Linked DNA regions of Homo sapiens: region 1 is linked to region 2. The links are contacts of gene promoters, found by promoter capture Hi-C in human tissues and cell types (Jung and others, 2019). All regions are on one chromosome and are shown on one strand. The core of a region is centred on a gene start or on the middle of the fragment in contact, and the rest is flanking DNA. Distances in the headings are between cores, read along the strand shown.

Region 1 (3,266 bases), core at 522-3,021, 70 kb before region 2:
TTAAAAACCACACTCTTGACTCCTTCCTTCTCTACTTCTTATTCCTACCTGCACTTTTTAGGATTGAGGACTACTTTTGATGTTCAATTTAATTTTACCTGTTTAAGAAAGTCAGAAAATGGGACCTCCACAGTTATTTAATCTGAGTCCTGCATAGTCTTCTACCTTGACTCAGATTACCTATCAGAGAAGAAGAAGCAGTTTTTGTTGTCACCGCAAAGACTGAAGTTTCTTCTATATGTGATGATTAGGTAATATTGGGAAAAAATTATACCCAAAATGCATCATGTGAAATGACTTTTTCTCCTAGTAGTTTACATTTTCAATTCAACAAATATTAATTGAACACCCTCTGTTGTAACCAGAGTAATAAAAAGACAGCTAGGTCCCTTCTTGTAACAAACTTAGATTATTATCTCATAAAAGGCATTAAAAAAACAAATTTGTCTCTAGAATGTTCCAGTGGAAAACTTCTTTGTGAAATGCAATGGAGCACTCATTAACACCAGTGACACAGTGCAGCATGGAGCTGTTTATAGTTTGGAACCCAGACTTTGCGGTGGAAAAGGAGGTAGGACCTGAACATTGACTACTTAGTTGTAACACATTTGCAGTCTTTATTCATTTATTTTCATATTCTGCTGCTGACATTTGCTGTCTTTAGCCATGGTATTAAATTAACAACCTTCTTAGTCTCTTTAGTATGCCAATATTGTTTTACCTTATGAATTCTTTTATTTACTTAACCTGATTTTGGACATTTTCTCTCTTATTCTTTTGTTTTCTTTCTTTTGAGACACTGCCTTGTTTTGTCGCCCAGGCTGGAGTACAGTGGTACGATCACGGCTCACTGCAGCTTTGACCTCCTGAACTCAAGCAATACTCCCACCTCAGTTTCCCCAGTAGCTGGGACTATAGGCACATGCCACCATGCGCAGCTAATTTTTGTATTTTTTGTAGAGATGGGGTTTCGCCATGTTGCCCAGGCTGTCTTTTATTTTGGTCGAGGAAGAAATATTGTGTGATACAATTCCCACTTTGTTCAGCTGGATAGCTCTTAGGGAACCTAGGCTCTAAAACTTTGGGGGAAAATTAGATGAAGAGAGATGGCCATTATTCTGTTCAATTTGCTGAATAAAGAGTTTTTTTTCTAAATCTCCTTCTGCTTTAATCAGGATTTTGTCTCGTTTTTGTAGTTCCAAAGGAAGTCTAAAGTTACCTTAGGAAACACAATTGTTTATAAGTTGAGGCAGATTAAGGTTTTGTTTGTTTAACACAACTACTAGGAAAGATAACAAAGAGCGAAAACAATATAAACAGTTGTTGGTATTTCTCCTAATGTAGTAACATGTGATCCCTAAGCTTTCTCAAAATCTACAGTGATTTGGTTTGGTTTTCAGAGAGCTGACATCTCAGACTATATCCAGCTGTTTGAAATTGTATGATTAAGAATGAAGCGTGGGCTGGGCACGGTGGCTCACGCCTGTAATCCCAGCACTTTGGGAGGCCAAGGCGGGCGGATCACCTAGGTCAGGAGTTCGAGACCAGGCTAGCCAACATGGCAAAACCCCGTCTCTACTAGAGATATAAAAATTAGCCAGGTGTGGTGTTAGGAGCCTGTAATCTCAGCTACTTGGGAGGCTGAGGCAGGAGAATCACTTGAACCTTGGAGGTGGAGGCTGCAGTGAGCCGAGATTGTGCCACTGCACTACAGCCTGGGCGACACAGTGAGACTCTCTCAAAAAAAAAAAAAAAGAATGAAGCATGTGGCCAGGCATGGTGGCTCATGCCTGTAATCCCAACACTTTGAGAGTCCAAGGTGGGAGGACAGTTTGAACCCAGGAGTTTGAGACTAGCCTGGGCAAGATGGTGAGACCTTGGTCTCTACAAAAAAAAAAAAATAGCTAGCTGCATCGGTACACGCCTGTAATCCTAGCAACTTGGGAGGCTGTGGTAAGAGGATCCATTGAGCCCAGGAGTTCAAGGCTGCAGTGAGCTTTGATTACATCAAGCCATTGCCCTCTAGCCTGGATGACAGAGCAAGGCCCCATCTCTTAGGGGGGATAAAAAGAATGAATGAATGAAGCATGTTATATCAGCCAGTGGAGCTTAAAATTGCCTTTCCTTCTAAACTCATTGAAAAATCTCACTATATACTTTTTAAGTTCTTAATCTGAGAATCTTGGGATCTCTGTGATTGTGTAAAGCTTCTTTTTTTTTTTTTTGAGACAGAGCCTGGCTCTGTTTCCCAGGCTGGAGTGCAGTGGCACGAGCTCAGCTCACTGCAAGCTCTGCCTCCTGGGTTCACGCCATTCTCCTGCCTCAGCCTCCTGAGTAGCTGGGACTACAGGCGCCCGCCACCACGCCTGGCTAATTTTTTGTATTTTTTAGTAGAGACGGGGTTTCACTGTGTTAGCCAGGATGGTCTTGATCTCCTGACCTCATGATCTGCCCGCCTCAGCCTCCCAAAGTGCTGGGATTACAGGCGTGAGCCACTGCACCTGGCCTGGGTAAAGCTTTTTAAATATTCTAGCTGTACAGGTATTATACCGGTATGCAAATAACTAACACAAGGATAAATAATTAGGTTTGGGAAGGCTAGGTATTTTATCTCAGAACTATAAAATGAAAGGTGAAAGGCATGAGGTTAAATCAGTCTTTTTACTTTCGCTGCCTGAATTAGAACCTTGATGTTCATCTTTTCTTAAAAAAAAAAAAAAAGAAAGAAAGTAGAGATCATTGTTAATCTTGTGATACAGATTGTTTTCACAAATTCTGCTTTTATCCATCCTTGAACACATTTTAACCTGCTTTCTCCAAATACATCTGCTCAGGTTTTGGATCTATGCTCCGAGCACTTGGTGCTCAGATTGAGAAGACAACCAATCGAGAAGCTTGTCGGGATCTCAGTGGAAGGAGACTACGCGATGTCAATCATGAAAAAGCGTAAGATGCCCACCTTTTTTTGTGTTTTTGAGGAGAGACATATACTTTCCTATTAGTAGTGATTATACATATGCCACGCATATTGGAAATGGAAACTTAAAATATTTACATCCAAATTTATTATCAGATTTAACCTTTTCCATAATTTAATAATCATCTTTGGGATTAAGTTCAGTACCATATGCTAGTAGTAAGCATGGCTCACCTTTCTAAGAGAATATCACAGTATGAACAAGTGCATTAATTCGTCAGAGACATTTTATATATAAAAGTGTATATGTAATATATCTATTCAGTTATATCTCTTCCTCCCTCATCCC
Region 2 (3,384 bases), core at 332-2,831:
GAATTTAAAAAATACAGAGGCCAGGTGCTGTGGCTCACGCCTGTAATCCCAGCACTTTGGGAGGCTGAGACAGGCAGATCACCTCAGGTCGGGAGTTCAAGATCAGCCTGACCAACATGGAGAAACCCTGTCTCTACTAAAAATACAAAAAATTAGCCGGGCGTGGTGGCGCATGCCTGTAATCCCAGCTACTCAGGAGGCTGAAGCAGGAGAATCGCTTGAACCCGGGAGGTGGAGGTTGCAGTGAGCCGAGATCGTGCCATTGCACTCCAGCCTGGGCAACAAGAGCGAAACTCTGTCTCAATAAATAAATAAATAAATAAATAAATAAAACATAGCATTATTTTGCTTAATAGTAAATATTATATTTGGTCCTCACTTTAAAGGGTGCACAAACTGAGGGCCTGGGGACTTGCTCAGGGAAGTTCACAGAAAGCAGCCCCTTGCCTGGGAGTGGGGGTGTGCATTACACGGAAAGGACTAGAAAAGCTAGCAGAGAGACCATGGGAACTAAGGGTCCTCAGCTCTTCTGAGTCCTCTAGGAACGCCACCTTCTTCCTCTCTACTTCTGTCATTTGTTCCCTGCGGCCCCTTATATTTACTACTGATAGAAAAGGAAACATCACATTGGTGGAGCTTTTAAAAGCAAGAGACAGGTCGGGCGCGGTGGCTCACGCTTATAATCCCAGCACTTTGGGAGGCCGAGGCGGGCGGATAACCTGATGTCAGGAGTTGAAGACCAGCCTGAACAACATGGTGAAACCCCGTCTCTACTAAAAATACAAAAATTATCCGGTCGTGGTAGCGGGCGCCTGTAATCCCAGCTACTGGGGAGGCTGAGGCAGGAGAATCGCTTGAACCCGGGAGGCGGAGATTGCAGTGAGCCGAGATCGTGCCACTGCACTCCATCCTGGGCAACAAGAGTGAAACTCCGTCTCAAAAAAAAAAAGGCAAGTGACAGCAAGGGGCTGGGGGGTGCGGGATCGCGGAAGAGTCGGAGACTCGAACTTGTCCTTCTTGTATCTAGTTTGGACAAATTCGCGAGAAACACTCAAGTTCAAGTGAATAAGCCGCGGCTGACCACCCTGGTGCCGCCTCGCCGCCACCTGGTCTGAACCTCGCCGCCACCTGGTCTGAACCTACGCCAGGAGGGCCTCGTTCATCCCCGCAAATCGGCAACCTGGAGAATTCCTGTGGGCCTTGAGGGGCATCTGATGGCCAGCGCCAGAAATAATATTAGCCAGGCCTGGGCCAGGCCTCAGCCCTGAGCCCGAGGTGGCTTAGGGACGGCGACCTCAGCCTTGGGGTGGGGGGGGGGGGTGGGGGCGGCCGGGCGTCCTGGGCCGGCGGGCGCCTGGAGCTCACGCCAAGCTGCCACAGGGGCTTCCGGGACTCCAGCCCGGAGTTCCGCCCTCCAGTCGCGAGCGGAGGAGGCGGGCACGCGGCCTGGCTCGGGCCGCGGATTGGCCTGCCCCGAGATCCTGGCCACTGATTGGTCGCCCGGACGGGGCGGGGCCACGTGGCCTAAGGCGCCATCAGCCGCCCGGGAGATATCCGCCGGGGGAGAATAGGGTTGCACCATCCCAGAAGCTGCTGTTAGCTCGCCGGTCCTCGGCACGCCGCCCGTTCGCCCCTGCGCTGTCCGCCCTTCCCCTAGCGTTACTTCCGGTCCCTCGCTGAGGGGGTTCGTGCGGCTCCCAGGAGGCGTGAACCGCGGACCATGAGCGTGGGCTTCATCGGGGCCGGCCAGCTGGCCTATGCTCTGGCGCGGGGCTTCACGGCCGCAGGCAAGCGCGTGGAGGCGGGAGGCGGCTTCGCGGGCGGTCCCGAGGCCCGAGGGGGCCTCCGTCCCACCAGCATGAGCGAATGAAAGGGGAGTTTGCGTCCGGTGGGGTAGATGAGACTCTGGTTGAGCAGCAAGTGCGTCTTCTGTCCTCGTAGAGGGTTGAGGGGGAGAGGGAGACTGGCACTGTTAGGACGGCTCTGGGTTTTAGAGCCAGGGAAAGCGTGGTAACGGGCTGGGCCGCGACCCCTAGTTGAAAAGCTCTGTCTTCTGCAGGCATCCTGTCGGCTCACAAGATAATAGCCAGCTCCCCAGAAATGAACCTGCCCACGGTGTCCGCGCTCAGGGTAGGTGGAGCCGGGCGGAGTGGGAAGCGGGTGGAGGCCCAGGAAAAGGATGACCTGAGATGAAGTGAGTCTGGCCGGCCCCTGCGCCCAAGTGCTGGTCTTTGGCCGGCGGTGACCTTTACTCCAGGAACGTGACAATCTTTCCACCTTCTCTTGGGCAGCTCAATGTGGTGGGAACACCCAGGGAGACATAACTGGGGGTCAGATCCAGACACTGGAGTGGTAGAGGATTAACTGAGGTGATTATGTGATGAAAGCACCTGGCACATAGTAGGTACCTAATAAATACTCATTTTTTAAATTTTTTTTCAGACAGGGTCTTACTCTGTCGCCCAAGCTGGAGTGCAGTGGCGCGATCTCAGCTCACTGTAACCTCCGCCTCCCACCTCAGCCTCCCACCTCAGCCTCCCGAGTAGCTGGAATTACAGGCATCCACCACGCGCAGCTAATTTTTGTATTTTTGGTAGAGAATACTGTTGGCCAGGCTGGTCTCGAACTCCTGGCCTCAAGTGATCTGCCCGCCTTGGCCTCCCAAAGTGCTGGGATTACAGGGGTGAGCCACTGCGCTCAGCCATTTTTCTTAATAGACGAGTTGTATGACCTTAAAGTACTCAGCCACTTTGAGGCTATTTCCTCATTTACAACAGTGGCCACTTTGCTGTTATTCTGAGTCGTGAATGAGCATATTGGGAAGAATCTGGTGAGTTAGTTGTTCTGTTCTCCAAAAACATATTCCAAGTCTTCACCCAAAACCTGTGCTCTGTGGGAGAGGATGGCTGATGAGGCAGGTGACAGGCAGTGTCTGTGCCTAGGGTGGGCTGATGTCCCTAGCACTGGAGGGTCCTGCTTCTCAGTTTGGAGTCATAGAGGGATGGATGGCTTCCAGCCTAGCCCTGGACCACATGGAGACTGTGCGGTCCCCACGAACAAGCGGCCAGGGTTAGGATAGGGCCTGACTCAGCTGTGCTTTTAACGACCAGGTATTAGCATTTCCCTTTGCCCTGCCACTTTCACCATAGGGCCTTCTTACCTGGCAGAGGAGTGCCTTAGATACCAGAAGATTGGCAGGGAAGAAGGGCAGCCACTTCCTGGTTACCATGGAGAAGCTTGTCATGCTCCAAGCCTGTGCTTACTTGTCCAGTAGCAACAATGGGAAACTGTATTATTTGGGGTAGGGGTAGAACCCTGAGGGCATAAAGCTAAGAATTCCAGGCTGCATCTGGCAGAATCGGTTTGGCAGGGGTTCAGCTGCTC

What was found. Contacts are between HindIII fragments. The study calls those that stand out against the background at their distance.
Region 1: a fragment that was not itself captured here is called in contact with the fragment with the promoter of PYCR2 in region 2 in 6 of the 25 tissues and cell types used here (H1 embryonic stem cells, aorta, heart left ventricle and 3 more).

What each region holds. Positions count from the first base shown.
Region 1 is chr1:225,992,571-225,995,836 of GRCh38, reverse strand. SDE2 (spliceosome associated SDE2) reads left to right here. Exons shown (of 7, transcript NM_152608.4): 2 at 454-571; 3 at 2,835-2,946. Among named protein-coding and RNA genes, the nearest start is that of SDE2, 5.1 kb to the left of the region's middle. The HindIII fragment of the contact is 4,719 bases long and covers 1-3,266 here.
Region 2 is chr1:225,922,447-225,925,830 of GRCh38, reverse strand. PYCR2 (pyrroline-5-carboxylate reductase 2) reads left to right here and starts at 1,581. Exons shown (of 7, transcript NM_013328.4): 1 at 1,581-1,787; 2 at 2,060-2,130. The coding sequence starts at 1,721. RefSeq lists silencers at 1,235-1,314, 1,455-1,544, 1,855-1,984 and an enhancer at 1,035-1,684. The HindIII fragment of the contact is 28,660 bases long and covers 1-3,384 here.